Regions from separate parts of the Homo sapiens genome. Here region 2 is linked to region 1. The links are contacts of gene promoters, found by promoter capture Hi-C in blood cells and fetal thymus (Javierre and others, 2016). All regions are on one chromosome and are shown on one strand. The core of a region is centred on a gene start or on the middle of the fragment in contact, and the rest is flanking DNA. Distances in the headings are between cores, read along the strand shown. Region 1 holds the start of SPATA21 (spermatogenesis associated 21). Region 2 overlaps SPATA21 (spermatogenesis associated 21).

Region 1 (4,800 bases), core at 294-2,793:
CACTTAGCATCAAGTTTTCAAGGTTCTTTCATGTAGCATGGATCAGAATTTCATTCCTTTTAATGGAGGGATAATATTCCATTGCATGTATATACCATATTTTGTTTATCCATTCATCTGTCAACAATTGGGATGTTATCACCTTTTGGTATTGGGAATCGGGCTACTATGAGCATTGGTGTTCAAACACTTGTTCTAGTCCTGTTTTCCATTTTCTTGAGTGTATACATAGGAGTGAAACTGCTGAGTTATACAATAATGCTATGTTTAGTGGTTTTGTTTTGTTTTGTTTTGTTTGAAACAGCATCTCACTCTGTTGCCCAGGCTGGAAAGCACTGGCATGATCATGGCTCACTGCAGCCTCAACCTCCCAGGCTCAAGTGATCCTCCCAACTCAGCCTCCCAAGTAGCTGGGACTACAGGTGTGAACCACCATGTCCGGCCTTGCTCACCTTTTTGAGGAGCCTCCAAACTGTCTTCCACAGCAGCAGCACCATTTACGTTCACAAGGGTTTCAATTTCTTCACATTTTTGCAAATATTGGTTATTTTTCTTTTCTTTTCTTTTCTTTTTCTTTTCTTTTTTTTTTTTTTTTTAGACAGGGTCTCTCTCTTTCTTTCTCTCTCTGTCACCCCACACTGGAGTGCAATGGTGCGATCATCACTCACTGCAGCCTCAAATTCCCGGGCTCAAGGGATCCTCCTGCCTCAACCTTTTGAGTAGCTGGGCCTACAGGCACACACCACCCTACCCTGCTATTTTTCTTACTTTTTGTAGAGACGGGGGTCTTGCTATGTTGCCCAGGCTGGTCTTGAATTCCTGTCTTCAAGAGATCCTCCTGCCTCAGCCTTCCAAAGTGCTAGGATTATAGGCATGAGCCACCATACCTGGCCTTATTTTCCAATTTTTTTTTTTTTGAGACTAAGTCTCACTCTACCACCCAGGCTGGAAGACAGTGGCATGATCTCAGCTCACTGCAACTTCTGCCTCCCAGGTTCAAGTGATTCTCGTGCCTCAGCCTCCTAAGTAGCTGGGATTACAGGCATGCGCCACCATGCCTGGCTAATTTTTGTATTTTTAGTAGAGACGGGGTTTCACCATGTTGGCCAGGCTGGTCTATAACTCGACCTCAAGTGATCCACCCACCTCGGCCTCCCAAAGTGCTGGGATTACAGGTGTGAGCCACCGCACCCAGCCATTCAGAGCACTTTCAGTTCTGTTCAGTCTAACAAAGACAGGCATCGAGCACATACCCTATGCCAGGTGCTGAGTACTGGGGTCACTGGGATGTGGCCAATCCAGCTCCTACCATCCTGGAGCTCGCAGACTGGAGGAGACAGAGAGAAAAGCAGTCATTGGCAAAGCAGAATGAAAGGTACTGTAATGAAGCAAATTCACAGGGGCCTGTGGGAGCAAAGAGAAGAAACCCCACACAGTCTGGGGAGAGTCAGGGAAGGCTTTCTGGGAGAGAGTACCCTGGCCCAATAATCACTGTGAGGTTGGCAAGGCAACGATTGTTATCTTCATTGTGTAATGGGGGCCACTGAACCAGTGACAAGCTGGGGGAAATGACACTGTCCAGTAGTTGGAGGTCACACAGCCCCTTGCCTTATTCTCAAACCCTAACCACATGGCTGGATATTCCTGAAATGCATTCCTAAACCTCTGCTGCTGAGAATAATTGGACCTGCCATCTATTCCCAGTTTAACTGCCCTGTATACCAAACAAATCCAATTCAAGCCAACAGGCAAAGTATAGGCTCAGACAGAGCCCATCCTATGTGCAAGGCGGTGAGCAGGGGTGGAAAATCTCACTGTGACTCATCCAGCTGATTTCTGGTAGGTGCAGGGCCAAGGTGGGGTGTAAGGTGAACAAGCTTTCCCTGACGGCCTCCAGACATATATATGATATGCCACTTATCTTTATCTGCTGTATTTTCCTGCCATCATAGATATTTCCAAGAGAAATTCTCCCATTTTTCAGATGAGGAAACCACTTATAAAAGGGGCACTCAATACCCAAAGAATTTTGAAAAAGAACAAAGTTGGAGGACTCACACTTCCTGATTTCAAAACTTTTTATTTATTTATTTATTTATTTGTTTTTCCATAGGTTATTGGGGTACAGGTGGTATTTGGCTACATGACTAAGGTTTTTGTTTTTTGGTGTTTTTTTTTTGTTTACATTAGTAATTTTTTTTGAGACGGAGTCTTGCTCTGTTGCCCAGGCTGGCGTGTAGTGGTGCAGTCTCTGCTCACTGCAACCTCCATCTCCCAGGTTCAAGCGATTCTCCTGCCTCAGCCTCCCAAGTACCTAGGATTACAGGCAGGCACCACCATGCCCAGCTAATTTTTGTATTTTTAGTAGAAACAGGATTTCACCATGTTAGCCAGGGTGATCTCAAACTCCTGACCTCGAGTGATCTGCCCCCCTTGGCATCCCAAAGTTCTGGGATTACAGGCGTGAGCCACCTTGCCCTGCATGAGTAGGTTCTTTAGTGGTGATTTGTAAGATTTTGGTCCACCCATCACCTGAGCAGTATACACTGCACCCTATCTGTATTTTTTTTTTTTTTTTTTGAGACAGAGTCTCACCCTGTCATCTAGGCTGGAGTGCAATGGTGCGATCTCGGCTCACTGCAACCCTCCACCTGCCAGGTTCAAGCAATTCTCCTGCCTCAGCCTCCTGACTAGCTGGGATTACAGGCATGTGCCACCATGCCCGGCTAATTCTGTACTTTTAGTAGAGACGGGGTTTCTCCATGTTGGTCAGGCTGGTCTCAAACTCCCAACCTCAGGTGATCTGCCCGCCTCGGCCTCCCAAAGTGCTGGGATTACAGGCACGCACCACCACACTCAGCTAATTTTTTGTATCTTTAGTAGAGATGGGGTTTCACCTTGCTGGCCAGGCTGGTCTCAAACTCCTGACCTCATGATCCGCCCGCCTCAGCCTCCCAGAGTGCTGGGATTACAGGTGTGAGCCACCGCACCAGGCCGATAAATGGGACTTTTACAAAAATTTAAAACTTCTGTGCTTCAAAAGACAAAAAGGTGAAAATGTAATCCACATAATGGGAGAAAATTTTTGCAGATCATATATATGATTCAGGACATGTATCTAGAATTTATAAAGAACATTTACCGTGCAATAATAAAAAGACAACCCAGTATAAATGGACAGAGGCAGGCTGGGTGCTGTGACTCATGCATGTAATCCCAGCATTTTGGGAGGCTGAAATGGGAGGATCACCTGAGCCCAAGAGGTCAAGGCTATAGTGAGCCACGTTCATGCCACTGCAGTCCAGCCTGTGGACAGAGTAAGACCCTGTCTGAAAAAAAAAAAAGGGGGGGGCCGGGCATGGTGGCTCACACCTGTAATCCCAGTACTTTGGAAGGCTGAGGTGGGCAGATCACCTGAGGTCAGGGGTTTGAGACCAGCCTGGTCAAGATGGCAAAACCGCGTCTCTACTAAAAATACAAAAATTAGTCTGGTGTGGTGGCACACACCTGTAATCCCAGCTACTAGGGAGGCTGAAGCAGGAGAATTGCATGGACACGGGAGACGGAGGTTGCAGTGAGCTGGAACTAGGCCACTGCACTCCACCCTGGGTGACAGAGCGAGACTCCATCTCAAAAAAAAAAGGACGAAGGCTCTGAATAAACATTTTTCCAAAGAAGATAGACAAATGGCCAATAAGCACATGAAGATGTCCAACATTATCGGCCATTGGGGAAATGCAAATCAAAATCAGAATGAGATAACACTTTACACTCACATCCACTAGGATAGCTATGATAAAAAAGACAAGTAAGGCGGTACAGTGGCTCACACCTGTAATCCCAAAACACTGGGAGGCTGAGGCGGGAGGATCCCTTGAGCTGAGGAGTTCAAGACCAGCCTGGACAACATAGTGAGATTCCCATCTACAAAATATTTGAAAATTAGCCAGGTGTGGTGGTGTGCACTTGTAGTCTCAGCTACTCAGGAGGCTAAGGTGGGAGGATCCCTTGAACCCCAGAGTTGGAGGTTGCAGTGAGCTATGGTCATACCACTGCACTCCATCCTGGGTGATAAAGGAAGACCCTGTCTCAAAAAATAAATAAATAAATAAATAAGACAGATAATAACAAGTGTTGGAGAGGATGCAGAAAAATTGGAGCAGTCATATGCTGCTGGTAAGAAGGTAAAATGATACAGCCACTTTGAGAAAGTCTGGCAATTACTCAAAAGCTAAAAATAGAGTTGACATGTGATTCAGCAATTCCGTTCCTATATACATAACCAAGAGAAATGCAAATGTATGTTCATATAAAAACTTGTACATGAATGTTCATAGCAGTGTTATTCATAATAGGTAAAATGTGGAAACGGGCCAGGCATGGTGGCTCACACCTGTAATCTCAGCACTTTGGGAGGCCAAGGTGGGAGGATCACTTAAGCTCAGGACTTTGAGCAGCCTGGGCAACCTAATGAGACCTCGCCTCTATTTAAAATTAAAAAATTTTTAAGACGAACCAGGCATGGTGGCATGCGTCTGTAGTCCCAGCCAGCCACTCAGAGGCTGAGGGGAGAGGATCCCTTGAGCCCAGGAGTTTGAGGCTATAGTAAGCTACGATCGCACTGCTGCACTCCAGCCTGAGTGACAGAGCAAAACTCTGTCTCAAAAAAAAAAAAAAGAAAGAAAAAAGAAACAACCTCAATTTCTATCTACTGATGAATGGATAAACAAAATGGGGTCTAGCCATACAGTGAAATATTACTCAGCCATAAAAAGGAATGAAATTCTGATGTGTGCTACA
Region 2 (4,800 bases), core at 843-3,342, 37 kb after region 1:
CACCACTGCACTCCAGCCTGGGCAACAAGAGCGAAACTCCATCTCAAAAAAAAAAAAAAAAAAAAAAAAAAAAAGAATGGCAGCTCAGAACTGCCAGAAGAAAGGGAAAAGCCTGTATAGCTCATCTACTAACACCTTTGGCAAGGGTGCCCCACAGGTGCTTAACTCCCCGACACTTCTGGGTTGCACGTGTGTCAGAGAATCCCTGGGGCAGGAAGCAAGAGGCTCAGGCCTGAGGTGAGACCCGTAGGGTTGTCCCTGTGCAAAGCTAGTTGAAGCCTGTGTGAAAGTGGCCACTGCGGCACCCTTGGCCCACGGTGTTAGTAGACGGCTGGAGTAAGAGGTGCGGCTGAGGCTATGATACAGGGACCCTGTGTGGATGTCTCTTTCACTACTCTTTTCCAATCACTTAGAAGAGTGGCCAGGACACAGTGAACATTCAGTGAATACTTACTAAATGAATGATGTTGTAGTCTAGCGGGGGAAAAGGCAAGCAGTGAGTTAAGAAAATCAAGTGGGTTGCGGGCTATAATTGGGTAACTACAGGTTGCAGGGGGCCTCCAGCGGGAGCCTAGCTACTCTGTAGGGTAGGGGTGGGGATAGGACAGAGAAGATTTTCTGGAGCAGAGTCCTTAACTTGAAATCTGGAAGATGAGCAGGAGTTAATTGCACAGATAAGTACTTGCACATCTAAGTAAATGTATCAGTGATAAAATCATAGGTAATCATAGGTAATGCAGTGGCTCACGCCTGTAATCCCAACACTTTGGGAGGCCAAGGTGTAAGGATTGCTTGAGGCAAGGAGTTTGTGACCAGCCTGGGCAACACAGCGAGACCACGTCTCTACACAAAATAAAAAAATCAGCTGGGTGTGGTGGTTGGTGCCTATGGTCCCAACTACTCAAGAGGCTAGGGCAGGACGATCAGTTGAGCCCAGGAGTTTAAGGCTGTAGTGAGGCCATGTTCACGCCACTGCACTCCTGCCTGGGTAACAGAGTGAGACTCTGTCTCCCCGCCACGCCCCTCCCCAAAATAATAGGTAACATGTACAAAGCATTTTCCGTGTGCCAGACACCATGCTGCGTGCTTGATGGGCCTTGTTAATTCATCCTTGTTATTTAATCCTACGGCATGTGAACTGTCTGATCTGTTTTACCCAACGGAAACTTGAAGCTCAGAGAAGTCAAGTCACTTGCATTGACAGGGTAGAGAGAACCCCTTCCCTCCATTTTACACAGGGTGACTGAGGCCCAGAGCAGGGCAGTGACTTGCTCATGGTCACAGAAAGGGCTGAGCTGAGACTAGAAGCCAGGTTTCCTGACTCCTAGGCTTGTGTTCCTGCTCCAGAGCTGGCCAGAGAGATAGGGGCTGAGGAGGAGAAGGGTGAATTAAACACAGCCAGGCTGAGATGGGTGGGCACTGCCTCCCCAGCTACTACCAGAAAAAGCTGAAGGAAGGCACCTGCAAGGCCCAGGAGATGGAAGCGGCCGTAGGCCGGCTGCGGTTGCAGAAGCTTCCCTACAACCCCCAGCAAGAAGAGAGCTCAGAAGTTCCAGAACGAAAGGTCCTCAGTATCCTGAGCCGGCTGAAGCAGCAGAACTATGGTGAGGGCCCTGGGCAGGGTGGGATGGGCTAGGGTTGGGGCTTTGCTCTCTTGCCCATCTGGTCTCCTTTCCTTGGACCCTCAGGCAGCCAGGCCAAGGGAGCTGAGAGGCCAGTTTCCCACTTCGGGCTTAACTGTGTACATCAGAAAACAGGCTGATAATCACTATTTTCCATCCAGGCCTATGACAATGGCCTCCTGCGTTGGACTCCTCCCCTCCTGCCTTAGCCTGAGCACAGGTTGGTCCCATGAGCCAGGACTGAGAAAGAACAGCTGTAGAGATTAGCAATCCCAGCTCACTGTTTATTGAGTGCCCACTGTGCTAGGCCCTTTGCAGATGCTCTAGAATTTAATACTCATAATCATGTATTTACCCCATTTTACAGATTAGAAAAATGAAACTGACCCAGGCACAGTGGCTCACATCTGTAATCCCAGCACTTTGGGAGGCCGAGGTGGGCGGATCACCTGAGGTCAGAAGTTCGAGACCATCCTGGCCAACATGGTGAAACCCCATCTCTAAAAAATTAGCCAGGTGTGGTGGCGAGCACCGGTAATCCCAGCTACTCTGGAGGCTGAGGCTGGAGAATCGCTTGAACCCGGGAGATGGAGGTTGCAGTGAGCCGAGATCACGCCATTGCACTCCAGCCTGGGGGACAAGAGCAAAACTCTGTCTCAAAAAAAAAAACAAAAATGAAACTGATAAAGTTCAGCAATTTGCCCAATGCCCCTAACTAGTGTTTTGGAAAGGGGAGTTTATATCCAGGTCTGACCCCAAAATCTATGCTCTTTCCACTGGGCAAGCCTGCCTCCCTTCCCCCAGGTACCATTTATTAGACTCCTACTATGTGCCAAGTAACAGGATAGGAGCTTTGCAGTCTTTCTAGAGCATGCCTACTAGACTTTGCCAACACCCATCACAAAGTCCTCTGCTCCTTGTTAAGCTGTTACCAGCTCTTATTCTGTGTGCAGCACTGAGCTGAGTGCTTTGCATATATTTCTCCTTTAATCCTCATCATCAACTTTTGTGAGGTGGGTACCACTATCACCTCCAGCTCAGAAGCTTAGAGAGGTTAAGTGACTTGCCCCAAACCACTCAGGTCATTATGTAGCAACGCCAGGATTTCACTTGAATCTGCCTGCTTCCCAAGGCTGGGCATGCTGTGAAGCATTCCTCCTTCTGCCTCCTTCTTCACCAGCTCCCAACCTGCAGAGCCCCTATGCCCAGGTGCCCTGCATCCTGCTCTGCCCACAGCTGGACAAGAAGATGGTCCGTAGGCAGCCGAGCAACCACTATGCACTAGACCAGTGCACACCCCCTGGCCTGGATCCTGACATCCGCAGCCCCTTCTTCCAGTCAGGATCTCAAGGAAACAGGTGGGTGCCCAGAGAAAGGGTCCCAGCCCAGGCCCTTCCAGATTCTTCCTTAAGAGGCCCCTGGCCTAATGCCTGGGAATCCATCTTTCTAAGAGATCATACCTGAGAGGCTGCTTGCTCCAGGGAGGAGAAAGGGTAAAAGGCGAAGAAGACAAACCTTTGTTGAGGGCCTGTGTACCCAGCAGATTGTTCCACTGAAGCCAGAGTGCTTCTGCTTTCCTGTGTCCAGGACTCAGTGGCACCTAACTGAGTACTCTGAGTTCCCTATGGTTCCATATTAGGACTAGCAGACTGTGCACCTGGGCAGAGGGGAACGTCTCCTGCAGCAGTCCCCCTCCAGGCCGCTGGGGAAGGGAGCTCTGGACTTGGAATCAGGCCCCTAAGCACAACTGCTGGTTCCACCATTTCTGAGGGGAGGCCTCCTCTCTCTCCTCACTTGGGCACGCACAGATGGCTCATATACTGGCAGATAGGGAAAGGGCCACATGTCTCCCACCCTTCTGCCCTACTCCTCTCCCCAGGGAACACAACTCTGACAGCAGAAAGTGGCTCAGCTCTGTGCCAGCTCGAACCCACTGACCCTCTGGAGGCCTGACTCTAGGCAGCTGCTCAAGGCCTGTAGACAGATGGGCCACCAGGCAGGAGCTGCTGCTGGGATTTGCTTTTGTGGCCTGGTGAGCTAATAAACACCAATAACTTCAGCCTCTGTGCCTCTTGCCAAGAAAGGCCCTCAAGTTGTCACCCAGCCACCACTGGGCTCTCAGAGTGCAGGGTTCCACCTCAAAGCCCTGCGCGGGGTTGGGATTTCTGCTACAGGTGCCCCTGCGTGCAGTCTTGACCTTCTGTGCCTTCTCAAAGCACAGGGCTAGGCCTCTCCTCAGGTGAGCACATCCCCCTCTGGACTGGGAGCCCCACAAAAGCAGCCATTCTCTCTCTCCACTGGCTCTAAGACAGGCCCTGTGGAAGAGCAGGAGGTGGCCTCTGCATGCTCCCCCGACAGAGCCCCAGGACCCAGGGCTCTCATTCTCTGGGAGCCCCAAGAGGGGTGGGTCCTTTCCCCTCAACCCACATACCACCCGGCCTCGTGTTTTACCAAAGACAGTCTTTCCCTGGGACTGGGCAGAGGGAAATCCCCCAGGGTTAAATAAGCGGCCACAGCAAGAGGTAGAGGGCAGGGACTGAAATGAGGACAAAGATCTGACAAGTTTAAAACATGTATTTAAAATACAATTTATAAAATGCTTAATCTGCCGACTCAGGAGCCCGCGGTGCAGGGTGGGGTGGGAGTGGGCAGCTGCCCGCTACACCAGCAGAGTAAGACTGCAGGGGTGCAGCCCTCCCTCCCATGCCCTTCTGTTCAGACACCCAAGGGGCCCATGTGCACCCCTGGGATCACACGACCAGAAAACAGGACCCCAGAGGTTTCTTGAGTCTCTGCTTACCAGGGAGGCTGGGTACAGCCCTGCCAGCCCATCCCTGAGCAGGGCACCCCCAGATGGGGCAGAGCAGGGTATGGCTGGGCAGGGCAGGGCTGGGCGGGGCAGATGGGCTCTGGAAGGGGCTGATGGTAGCAGATAGGGTGTTGCCTCCTGCCTGCAGGTGGGGAGCACCCTGATTGAGTGGGCTGAGAAAGGTTGGTCACCAGGCCTGGACCCCCCAGCTCCTTTGGTTATAGGCTGACATCAGAGTAGTGGCTCATGGGAAGCGGTTAGCTGGAAGGTCTGAGGCCTGGCCCATGGGGTCAGGGAGGAGCTGGGGGAAGGGGACAGTACCGTGAAGGCAGATAAAGGGGCAGCAGCCTCAGGTTTCTGCCCCCCATC

What was found. Contacts are between HindIII fragments. The CHiCAGO score rates a contact against its expected background, and 5 or more counts as called.
Region 2: a fragment that was not itself captured here is called in contact with the fragment with the promoter of SPATA21 in region 1 in 1 of 17 cell types (endothelial precursors); the score reaches 6.7 in endothelial precursors.

The regions. Positions count from the first base shown.
Region 1 is chr1:16,434,167-16,438,966 of GRCh38, reverse strand. SPATA21 (spermatogenesis associated 21) reads left to right here and starts at 1,543. Exons shown (of 13, transcript NM_198546.1): 1 at 1,543-1,839. RefSeq lists a silencer at 643-813. The HindIII fragment of the contact is 2,188 bases long and covers 1-1,879 here.
Region 2 is chr1:16,397,524-16,402,323 of GRCh38, reverse strand. It overlaps SPATA21 (spermatogenesis associated 21), which reads left to right. Exons shown (of 13, transcript NM_198546.1): 11 at 1,432-1,604; 12 at 2,803-2,980; 13 at 3,502-3,681. The coding sequence ends at 3,559. It overlaps SZRD1 (SUZ RNA binding domain containing 1), which reads right to left. Exons shown (of 4, transcript NM_001114600.3): 4 at 4,179-4,800. Among named protein-coding and RNA genes, the nearest start is that of SZRD1, 33 kb to the right of the region's middle. RefSeq lists a silencer at 734-909. The HindIII fragment of the contact is 1,153 bases long and covers 1,516-2,668 here.